2 separate regions of the Homo sapiens genome follow, and region 2 is linked to region 1. Evidence: promoter capture Hi-C in human tissues and cell types (Jung and others, 2019). All regions are on one chromosome and are shown on one strand. Each heading gives the region's core, a stretch centred on a gene start or on the middle of the fragment in contact. The rest is flanking DNA. Distances are from core to core; before and after follow the strand shown. Region 1 holds the start of WFDC8 (WAP four-disulfide core domain 8). Region 2 holds the start of DBNDD2 (dysbindin domain containing 2).

Region 1 (5,291 bases), core at 1,815-4,314:
AGTAGTAGTGAATGTATACATCATAATTTCATTTTGTTTTCCAAGTATCAGAACCCATATACATACATGATTGTATATATTTGGACGCAGAGAAAGATGGTAAGGGTACAAAACAGCCCATTAAAATTGGTTATTAATTATCAACCAAGGCTATTAATATTGAGGGAGTTAGAAATGGAGAGATGTGGCTTAGAAATTATTACCTTTTCTTTATATGTTCTTTGTACTGTTTCACTTATTGGGTATTTGATGTGTGTAATTTTATAATTAAAAATTCATAACTAGGACTCTTAGAAACTATTCCCAGTAAATCACCCCCCCAAAATATTGTCTAAAATACTTAAAATGCATGACTCTTTAAATCAATGAGTCAGTTGGCAAGAAAGAGGAATTCTTAAAAGCCAAAAATGATGTGAAGGTCTGACTCCAGAGAGATAAGGAAGTGCTTTAGTTAGAGGCTTCCCTGGGAGTATCTGCCAATGCCTGGTAATCTGCAGTTTGAATTTTAGTGGGCCCCTGGCAAGGGCAAGAAAAAAGAGCTAAGCCCTAAGCAATGTGAAAAGTCAGATCAGAAATCTCACTCACAAGGATCACCAAATGCTGACACCTTAATAAATGGATGAAACAGAAATAAATGGATGAAACAGAAACACACACATGCACAACTGTGGTGAAGGAACTTGCCTGTCTTGGCTTTGGCTCTGAACAAAACAGGAAAAAAGACTACTCTGGGCTGGGTGCAGTGGGTCATGCCTGTAATCCCAGCACTTTGGGAGGCAGAGGTGGGTGGATCACGAGGCCAGGAGTTCGAGACCGGCCTGACCAACATGGTGAAACCCCATCTCTACTAAAAATACAAAAAAATTAGCCAGGCGTGGTGGTGCGTGTCTGTAATCCCAGCTATTCAGGAGGCTGAGGCAGGAGAATCACTTGAACCCGGGAGAAGGAGGTTGCAGTGAGTTGAGATAGTGCCACTGCACTCCAGCCTGGGGAACAGAGCGAGACTCCATCTCAAAAAAAAAAAAAAAGACTATTCTGAGAATTTGTAACTGCAACCTTGTTTCCTTTCATAAGAGCAGAGTAGGAAAATTGGCACATGTGCATGGTCTGATAAATCTAAAGCTATGAATTTAATTCAAAATTGCATGAGTTGTTAGGGAAAAATTGAGGACAAGTTGATTCGGAAGAATTCTCCTTTAAACACAGGAATCCAAGAAATTCCACAAAGTATTGTTACATACATAAACTTCCATTAAATATGTACTCTCACAATAAAAAAAATCACACAGATCTTAAGAAAACAAGATGAAAAAAATCAAGAAAAACAACCAACAGCAGAGGTCCACAAAGACTTCAGATATTGGAGTTACTGTATTGTATTGTAGCGAGTTATTGTATTGTAGGAAAGGAACATAGAAAAAGGATTCCTGATTCTGTCTTTGGGGTAGGAAGGGCACGTGATAAAAACTTTCATTCAAAAGGTAAAAGACAAGCCAATAAGGGTTTTAGAAGATTACCCTTGATCCTGGAAGATGTTCATAATACATATAACTGAGGAAAGACATGACTCCAGTAGAAATCAGCAAGAAAAAGTCAGAAAACCCCAGAGAACAATGAGCAAAACATTTGAAAAGAAAATCAAAGAGAGGATAGCCAAGTGGTTAATAAAGATCTAAAAAGGTGCTCAACCTCATTAGTAGTCAAGAAATTTAAATTAAGTCCACAGTGATGTATTTCCATACTCGTAGCAGGATGGTAAAAATGAAAAGATTGTGACAGTTCTACATACAGCATGGTTATGGAACAATAGGAACTCTCAACTACCAATGGCAAGGCTGTGAATTGGTACAAACTCTTTGGGAAATAATTTGGTATCAGCTTGAGAAGCTGAAGATATGCATACCCTGTAACCCATCATTCCCTATGCTGAATGTATAACCTACAAGAACACCTGCCCACGTGCTCCAGCAAATGCACACAGAGTGTTCATAGCAGCTTTATTCTTTTTTTTACATGAGTAAATTGTTTAAAATTTTTTTGACATTTAAAAACATTTATTAATTCATTTAACGTAATAAACTTATTACATGTTGATATAAATAACATTTTTATTTAGAAAATCCTAGTTTTTTATTATACTTTAAGTTCTGGGATACACGTGCAGAACGTTATTACATACATGCTATGTATACACACAGCAGCTTTATTCTTAACAGCTGCAAACTATAAACAACTCAGTAGAGATGTGTGTAGTCATACAATAGATGGCATGGCAATGAAAATTGACAAAATACAGCTACACAAAACAATGTGGATGGAATTCATTAATATAATGTTGAACACAAAAAGCCAGGCACAAAAGAATACATTCCAAGTGACTCCATTGATATAGAACAGAAGCAGACAAAAACAAAAACATATTTAGGGGAATACATATGATCTTGAAAATATGAAAAAGAAAGTCACTACCATTAGCTGCCTTTGAGAGCATAGGAAGGGGTTGTGACTGGAAAAGAATGAAAAAGGAGCAGAAAGTGTTGGAAATTTTTTACTTGATTTCAGTGATAGTTTAATGAGTGGTCACTTCGTAATAGTTCGTTAGACTGAACATTAATGTTTCATGCATATTTTTATTTTTGTGGTGTTTTTCACAATACATATTTTTACAAAAAGGAAAAGTAGCTCTTCCTTGTTTTGTCTCCTTTTCTTTACTAACTGAACTAGTCAGTCCTAAAGCCATTAGATAGGCACATTTAGCAAGGTAGGCGTTTGCCCCAAGGGGAAGGGAGCCACGGCTGGCTCCGTGTGGGCATCAGAGCTGGAACAGGTCAAGGAGGGTGTCTCTGTAGGAGGGCTGCTGGCCTGGTGTGCTGGAGCCAGGGGTAGATGAGAATGCCCAGTGAAGAGGCAAGAAGCAGCATAGCATGGAGACCAGCCTGCCCATGTTGAGAAAGGCATCCCCCTGGGGCTAGAGGGGCAGACTGGCATAGAATGAGAGCCTGAGTGGGGTGAGCAGAGTGTCCAGGCAGGGGAGCAGATGAGGGAGGAGCCTTAGAGCTGGAGCAAAGTGAGGAAGCTGTCTCCATAGGGAAGAGGCCTGATGTGGACTGTCCGAACTGAAGGAGGGTGAGGAGGGTGTCTATGGGGGTGGGTAGCCAGACATGGAGGGTCTGAGCCCAAGGAGATGAGGAGGATACATAGAAGTTAGAGTGGTCGGCTGTGGGGAGTTGGGCCAAGCATAGTGAGGAGGGGTTCCACAGAACAGAGCTGTCTTGTGTCAGGAATCAGAGCCTAAGCAGGGTGAAGAGGGCATCAATGCATCCAGCGATTCTCCTGCCTTAGCCTCCCTAGTAGCTGGGACTACAGGTGTGCGCCACCACGCTCGGCTAAGTTTTGCATTTTTAGTAGAGACGGGGTTTCACCATGTTGGCCAGGCTGGTCTCGAATGCAACCTGATATGGCTGTTGGAGCCCAAGTAGGGTAAGTTGGGCATCTTTGAGTGGCCCAGTGTGGAGGGGCAGAGCCTGAGCAAGGTAAAGTTTGATATTTTAAATTAAACAAGCATATAATATGTATCTAAACATTTTCAAAAAATTAAAACAGGAGTAGTAGTGATGGGTTATATTATTATTCACAACTATTCATTCCATCTTTCCTTTAAGAGGACACTCCTGTCCATTACCTTGCAATTTTAGAACGGCCCGTGGAAGGAAGACACATTTCTGTCTCATTGACTTTGGGTTTGCTGTCAGCTGTGCTTTGCCTATTGGAGTATGAGCAGATGTAGCATATGCATAGTGAGTTTTGCACTGTGAGTTTCTGCCAGCTCCTTTGTGCTTTCTCTCTGCCAGGAGAAGGGGCCTAATCCACATAGAGGCTGCTTCTTTTGTCTTGGTCCCACAGCCTCAAGTAGAGCCCCCACTTGGAACAAAGCAGTAGACAATTTGCCTAGGAAGTCTTTTGTTGTGGCAAGCCATGGAGAGCTCAAAGTTCTTTGTACACCAAAGTAATAAAAATACAGTTGATTCCCATTACTTGGGGGTAGTTATGTTCTGTAAAGTCACTGTGAACACCGGATTAGCAAATACTGAGCCATTGCTCCTAGGGAAAATGCAAGCCTCTGACCACACATTTTCATCATTTGATCAATACATAACCTTGTTTTTATATGTGCTTCTGTCTGAAGACACATGACAGAGATGGTAATTAGAAGGTGCACACAGAAGACTTCTGGGAAGCTGGCTACTTTCTATTTTTTAATCTGTGTGGTTAATTATTAAATAAAACTCTACATACTTTATTTATTTATTTATTTTTATTTTTATTTTTTTTGTTTTGTTTGAGAGGGAATCTCTCTCTGTCCCCCAGGCTGGAGCATAGTGGTGTGATCTCGGCTCTCTGCAACCTCCACCTTCTGGGTTCAAGGGATCCTCCTGCCTTAGCCTCCTGAGTAGCTGGGACTACAGGTGTGCACCACCACTCCAGGCTAATTTTTGTATTTTTAGTAGAGACAGGGTTTCACCGTGTTGGCCAGGCTAGTCTTGAACTCCTGACCACAGGTGATCTGCCTGCCTCAGCCTCCCAAAGTGCTGGGATTACAGGCATGAGCCACCGTGCTGGCCCTGTCTTTATTTTTTAAACATGTATATAGGCCAGGCGCGGTGGCTCATGCCTGTAATCCCAGCACTTTGGGAGGCTGAGGCAGGCGGATCACTAGGTCAGGAGATTGAGACCATCCTGGCCAACACAGTGAAACCTCATCTCTACTAAAAATACAAAAAATTAGCAGGACGTGGTGGTGGGTGCCTGTAATCCCAGCTACTCGGGAGTCTGAGGCAGGAGAATCACTTGAACCCAGAAGGCGGAGGTTGCAGCGAGCCGAGATCGCACTACTGTACTCTAGCCTGGCGACAGAGTGAGACTCCATCTCAAAAAAAAAAAAAGACACCTTATGTAATATATATTATTGTTTCATTAACATTGAATTGTGGCTGAAAGCCCTGTAACTCATGCCTGAACCAAGCTTATCTGACACAAGTAATTTCTTTGTAAGGCACATTGCAGGCCTCTTGCTCTTAGGACACTTGACAGCACTTTAGTAATTCTTGGCAGCCATTTTAAACAGCAAACTCACCAACAAAAAGCACAAAAATGTGAAAAATGTGACACTAAGTAGACTGCAAAAAGGAAGCTTGTTTATAGTAGTAGAAGAGCTTAAACAAGCAGAGCGTTGCCTTGTTTGACTTCAGCTGGGAATGTGTACGTTGGGGGACTCAAATTTTTTGCCATTC
Region 2 (5,803 bases), core at 198-2,697, 170 kb after region 1:
GGATCTACAGTCAGGTCAATGAATGGCAAGAGTTCAAGTTCCACCTACATCACTTATTGCTGCTGAGTGGCTTTGAGCAAGTCACTTTCCCTTTCAAGGACTCTGTTCCTCCTCTGCAAAATAAAAGGGATACCTACATCCCCAAAGGGTTTTGGGAATAAAACCTAAGAATGCTTATAAAATGTCTGGCATAGTAAGCCATCAATAAATAGTAGCAGTTTTAATTAAAAGAATATCTATCTTACAAGTTAAGCATATGGGCTTTGGAGTCAGACAGACATGAATTCCAGTTTATCTACCTTCTGGCTACAATGTGACTTAACTTCTCTGAGCCTAATTTCCTGCTTATAAAATAGAGATTATATCACCTACCCTGACAGGACGTTGTAAGGATTGAGATAATATATGTAAAGTACTTTAGTACAGTATTGGAACCTACTAAAGTACTCAATACATATTAATATCATTATAATGACTAAAACTACTTAAGTTGCCAAATATAAAAATTACAATTTTACATTATTTTAATTATAGTGACTAATTATATTAATATAACAAATGTAAAATTAAAGAAGAGATTGACCGTTCCCAGAATTTTGGATTAGAGATGTGTAACCCAGTTCTCCCTCAGGGTCAACTTCCCTAAAATCAGAACAGGCAGCTGTTTCATTGGTAGAAACACCCACTTCCAGCCCTTACTTGTGTACTTCCCCAGCCCAGCCTTGTAGCCTCGTTTCAGAGCCTGACATCCGGCTCTGGCTGACTGGCACTGAAGTCCCCAAAGCAGAGGGGCATACCAGACGACTGGGGGGTTGGTGGAGGATCTTCGCAAGGCAAGAACACATCTGCTGCATCCGGGTCCCCAAGGTCAATAAGTTCTACTTGCTCCAGTGTGTCCACATTCACTTCCATGGATGAGATACTACCTATGGGGGCTGCGGATCAAGAAGTGGGCAAGTCAGGAGGACCCAAGCTGCACACCAGGACAGTGAGAGTTACATGTCAGGTCCCAAGTTAGAAGCATAGAGGGCCAAGAAAACCAGAGGGGAGAGAGTGCCACAAGATTCAGGACCCACAGGACATCCTCCCTACCCTACCCCAGTCCCTCTTCTCAGGACTTGGGACTTACGTCTCTGCGACTCGAGATGCAGATGGGACAGAGGAAAGACAAACTCTGTCTCTGGCTGTAAAATGTCCTCGAAGAATTTTTGCCGCTCCCGAAGGCGGAGCTGCTGGCGCTCCAGGGCGGCCCGAGGATTTGGGTCCATGTCAGCTCCTGCGGGTAGAGGAGCAAAACAAGTACAGCTGCAAAGTCGAAAGAGAAGACAGAGGGGACCTGGGCTTGGGGCGCCCCACTGCAGCCAGCATCCCAACAGTGGGGCCCCTGGCTCCGGCCTGGACACCTCTGCCCTTGGTGACCTCTTTCCCCTTCCCTGAAACCAAGTGTGTCCCACAAACCAAGTCTCATGCAGAGGCGGGGCTTGCCCTAAGCTCCACAAAGGGGATGCCAGTTCCAGGCACCACAAGAGAGATACTCTGTATTCAGGGAACACAGCCAATGCCCAACTCTCCATATCATGCCCTCCTGAGAGGGGTTGGAGGGATTGGTTCAGCACAAATGGAGGAGGTACGTTTTCCCCTTAATTGGCCCCGCTTGCCTCAGAAGGCCAGGGACAGGATAGGATAGAGACAGAGATCTCAGGGTGGAGGGTTCCCTTCCTCCAGTGCTGCAGCCCACCCCTTCCCATCCTTCAAAACCCAGACAAAGGCTAAAGCAACTCCTCCCGCGCCCCTCCTTTTCTCTCCACCCACACAAACACGTACACACGCATGTGCCATCTACCCCAAACCCTTGCTCTGAAGTCACAGGCCTGACTTCCAGACTAGGCTCTGCCCCTAAGGAAATCACCTTTCTGGTCTTAGTCTCCCCATCTGAAAATGGCATAACCAACCTACCTGCCTCAAATACAAGACCCTGCTTGTGAAGGTGAGCTATTTAGGAGACTACCATCTTTCCTTTGAACTCCAACAGCTCTTTATGCGTCCCCCTCCTGGGACACATCTCACTGACTTATCTCCCCATTAGTCAGTGAGGAGCAATTGGAAAGGCGGGTTCTGGGTCCAGTTCAGAGCAGGCCTCCTGACCCCTAGGGCTGAGAAGCTGAGACCCTGCCAGAGCACTGAGGCTATGGGCCAGCCCAGGTCGGTGCATTCATTCCCATTCGCTCATCTCCTTCCCGGCGTTCTGCTCTGAGCCCATCACCAGAGGCAAGGGAGTTTCTAGCTTGAGGATCAGACGTCATCCTCCGCAGACTGCCTTCCCCACCTCATCTGCACCCAGCGTATCCCAGACCCTGGCCAGCTCCACGGGCGCCACAGAGGTGGAGAGGGACCCAACCCCGACTGGCCAAGGCAGGGCCACGGAAGTCTGGGGAGACCGTGCGGCCGCGGGCTGGCGGCGGAGGAGCGAGGCGCTGACGCCGATTCCCGGGAAAGGCTCTTAGAGCTGCCGCCCAGGTCACAACGCTAAAAATACCCAGGGCCCCTGGAGCCTGTGCTCCAGCAGCGAGGAGGGGGAGGGAGAGGCCAAGGTGGGGGAGCTGACGGGGGCCAGGGGCTCTGGGACACCCCCTCTCTTTTCCCCTCCCCCTAACCCCACCGATCTCACGAGACTGAAGGAGCTGTCCCCCGGGGGGCCGCGGAGCCCAGAGCTGGAGAAAGGGAGTTGTTTACGCGACCTATAGGTACTGGAAAGGGGGTGAAGAGATTTGGGGGCAGGAGGCTGCCAGGGGCCGGGCAGGAGCCAGCGAAATGGAGAACTCCCTCTCGGTCTCAGCCCCACCCGCACTGGAGCCAGCAAGAGGGAAAAAATTCCCTAAAAAGGGACACGAGGCGTCGGCGGAGGACGGGGGGAGGGCGCTCCCCCAAGGCCGTTCCCCTCGTGCTCCGGTCCCCTCCGCGGTCCACCGCGGCACCTGCGCCCACCGCCGCCGGAGCCCCTACCTGCAGCGCTGGCGCCCCCTCTGACTCAGTCCGTCCGCTCCAGCGAGGCCGCGGCGGGGGCGTGGGAGCGAGCCGCGCCGGCCGGGGTGGGGCTGCGCCTCCAGGGCTCCCGGGGGACCGACGGGCCCTGGGAGCCGGGAACGAGGAAGAGGCGGGAGGCGGAAGTGGGGGAGGGGCGGTGGCGGGCTCACTCGCTCGCAGCTCGCCCGGCGGTCGGAGGCAGCCCCTGCGAGCGCGGCTACTGGTACTTCCAAGGCGGTCAAAAAGTTACCCGCACCCATCCTTCCTCCCTCCGCCCAGCCGGACTCCTCTGCACCACCCTCGCCACCGACGCCGGTGCGCTAGTCTCCGCTCGCTCGGATGCACTTGCTGCGCCCCCGCCCCGCGCAGACCCGCGGCGGGCGCCCGCGCCGGTTCTGCCCACGCACACTTGATGCTCTGCGCCTTTTGGGCAGCGCCCACGCAACGACTACGCACCCGAACCCTGCCTCCGGCACCCTTGGCCACACTCGCCACACTTACACGCGCGCACTTCTCCAGAGGACGCACGATGGGAAAGAGAGAGTTGGGACCCGCAGGAGGGGGCAGGGCACTGACCCGGTGCCGCCCAGCAGGGCAGGTGCAAGGCGGCGGAGGACCCCTGCCCTGGGACTCGCCCGGCTGCCCCTGATTCCTGGCTCTGGGACTAGACAGAGCCGCCGCCCAACCTACCAAGCACACTGGGCGGGGTGGGCGCCGGGCCGGCCGGGCGGGTCAGAGCTGGAAGGGTGGGCCGCTACGCCGCGCCCCCCGACGCCGGCAAGGAGCCAGCACCTCCACGGTGCTAAGAGGGGCGCTGCGCTGCTGGCCAGGCGGGGGTGGAGGGGCGAGGCGGCAACTGCGAGAGGAGAAACGTTTGCCCTCTTTTCGCAGCGTCTCCTGGCTCAGACCAGTGCTAGAAGTGTCCAGTCTAGCAGCTCCTGGACCAAGACTCCGTGGCCATTCCCTTCCTCCTGCCTTCCATCCACCCCCTTACGGTCAGAGCTCCGAAGGCAGCGTGGTGACGGGTGCGGGGAGGGGAGTGGGGGGATCTCTCTGAGATACTTCTGCCTTGGGGTCACTGGATCATTCATTCGACAAACATCCGCGAGCAAGTCAGGAACTAGGAGTCATCCTTGCCACCTCCCTCTCCCTCGCTGCCTATATTAAAATACACCTCCATTTCCTGTCGATTCTCTTTCCTAAATATCTTTCCAGTCCACCATTCCTTCCGTTTGCCCCACCACCTCCCGCCTGGGCTCCTAATGCAGTAACCTTCTATCTGGTTTTCTTTTCTTTTTTTTTTTTTTTTTGAGACGGAGTCTCGCTCTGTTGCCCAGGCCGGACTGCGGACTGCAATGGCGCAATCTCGGCTCACTGCAAGCTCCGCTTCCTGGGTTCACGCCATTCTCCTGCCTCAGCCTCCCGAGTAGCTGGGACTACAGGCGCCCGCCACCGCACCCGGCTAATTTTTTGTATTTTTAGTAGAGACGGGGTTTCACCTTGTTAGCCAGGATGGTCTCGATCTCCTGACCTCGTGATCCACCCGCCTCGGCCTCCCAAAGTGCTGGGATTACAGGCGTGAGCCACCGCGCCCGGCCCTATCTGGTTTTCTTGTACTCATTCTGGCCCGGCTACACTCCATTCCCTGCATTACAAGTCAGCTGTCATTTCAGAACACAAGTCTGGTGTGCCCCCCTCGACCCCCCCGCCACGCGGCGTTGCCTAAATTCCTCCACTGTTAGAATAAAATCTGGACGCTGATATCTGAGCTAAGTCTTGAAGACATGAGTTCAACAAGCAGAAAAGAGGGAGAAGGGCATGTGCAGAGGGAGGGAAGTGTGAACAAATCATTGACACATTCAGGTTTCCCTGTCAGGGGACCAGCACTCTGTACACTAAAGCACTGCCTCTTAACATTATTGGGATCTCAAAACAACCCTGTGAGATAAATACAGCATGCAATTTTCCCACTAGTTTACAAGCATGGAAACTAGTTTGTGGGAGGCAACAAATGCAATGGTTAAGAGCACAGGCAATACAGTCAGACCCTCTTGGGTTGTAAACCTATTGATTCCTCTAGCCAGCTGGGTAAACACTTCTCTGATCCTTGATCTCTTACCTACTAAAGAGGAATAATTAATCCCTCCCTCTTATAAGATAATTTATATAAAATGGTTAGTTACAGGACTTGGGCACTTTGGAAATGCTCAGTAATCGTTAGCTGTTTTGATGGTAATGGGTTCTGAGAAAGGGAGGGAACTGCTGTCTTCCACAAATTTCTGAAATTATAGGAAGTAAGCCCTAATTGTTAACACTTCCACAGAGCTTATTATGTGCCAGTCACTATTATAAGTGCTTTACAAAAATTAACCCTTTTAATCCTCTTGCTGTTTCCACTTTACAGATACAGAAGTTGAGATACAGAGAGGTGAAGGAACTTGTCCCAGGCCCTACAGCTAGTAAGTGATGGACCTGGAATTTAAGCCCAGGTAGACTGCCTCTAGAGACTGTGCTTACAACCCTTTTATCCTGTGCCTGTTCCCCTTTTATCCTGTTGTAGTTTTCATCTTCTAAGAACTATTTCATTGGGTTGGTTTGATTCTTATTTCTCATTAATGGATAGAGTAGATACTTCATCTAATTTTCTAGCACAGAAAATGAGGGCCAAGTCAGGAGTACAGTGGATAAGAGCTTAGCTCACTCCCAGTCATGTCCCCATTTTCAGAGATGTATCCCTTTTTTTTTTTGACAGAGTCTTGCTCTGTTGCCCAGGCTGGAG

The links. Contacts are between HindIII fragments. The study calls those that stand out against the background at their distance.
Region 2: a contact is called between the fragment with the promoter of DBNDD2 here and the fragment with the promoter of WFDC8 in region 1, in 2 of the 25 tissues and cell types used here (mesendoderm cells and neural progenitor cells).

What each region holds. Positions count from the first base shown.
Region 1 is chr20:45,577,057-45,582,347 of GRCh38, reverse strand. WFDC8 (WAP four-disulfide core domain 8) reads left to right here and starts at 3,064. Exons shown (of 6, transcript NM_130896.3): 1 at 3,064-3,126. The coding sequence starts at 3,101. RefSeq lists an enhancer at 3,314-4,249. The HindIII fragment of the contact is 18,093 bases long and covers 1-5,291 here.
Region 2 is chr20:45,403,933-45,409,735 of GRCh38, reverse strand. It overlaps DBNDD2 (dysbindin domain containing 2), which reads right to left and starts at 1,447. Exons shown (of 3, transcript NM_001048225.4): 1 at 1,130-1,447; 2 at 798-935. The coding sequence starts at 1,268. It overlaps SYS1-DBNDD2 (SYS1-DBNDD2 readthrough (NMD candidate)), which reads right to left. Exons shown (of 6, transcript NR_003189.2): 4 at 1,130-1,276; 5 at 798-935. It overlaps LOC107985404 (a long non-coding RNA gene), which reads left to right and starts at 1,847. Exons shown (of 5, transcript XR_007067608.1): 1 at 1,847-1,987; 2 at 3,304-3,622; 3 at 3,916-4,019; 4 at 5,429-5,803. RefSeq lists an enhancer at 2,310-2,859. The HindIII fragment of the contact is 23,713 bases long and covers 1-5,803 here.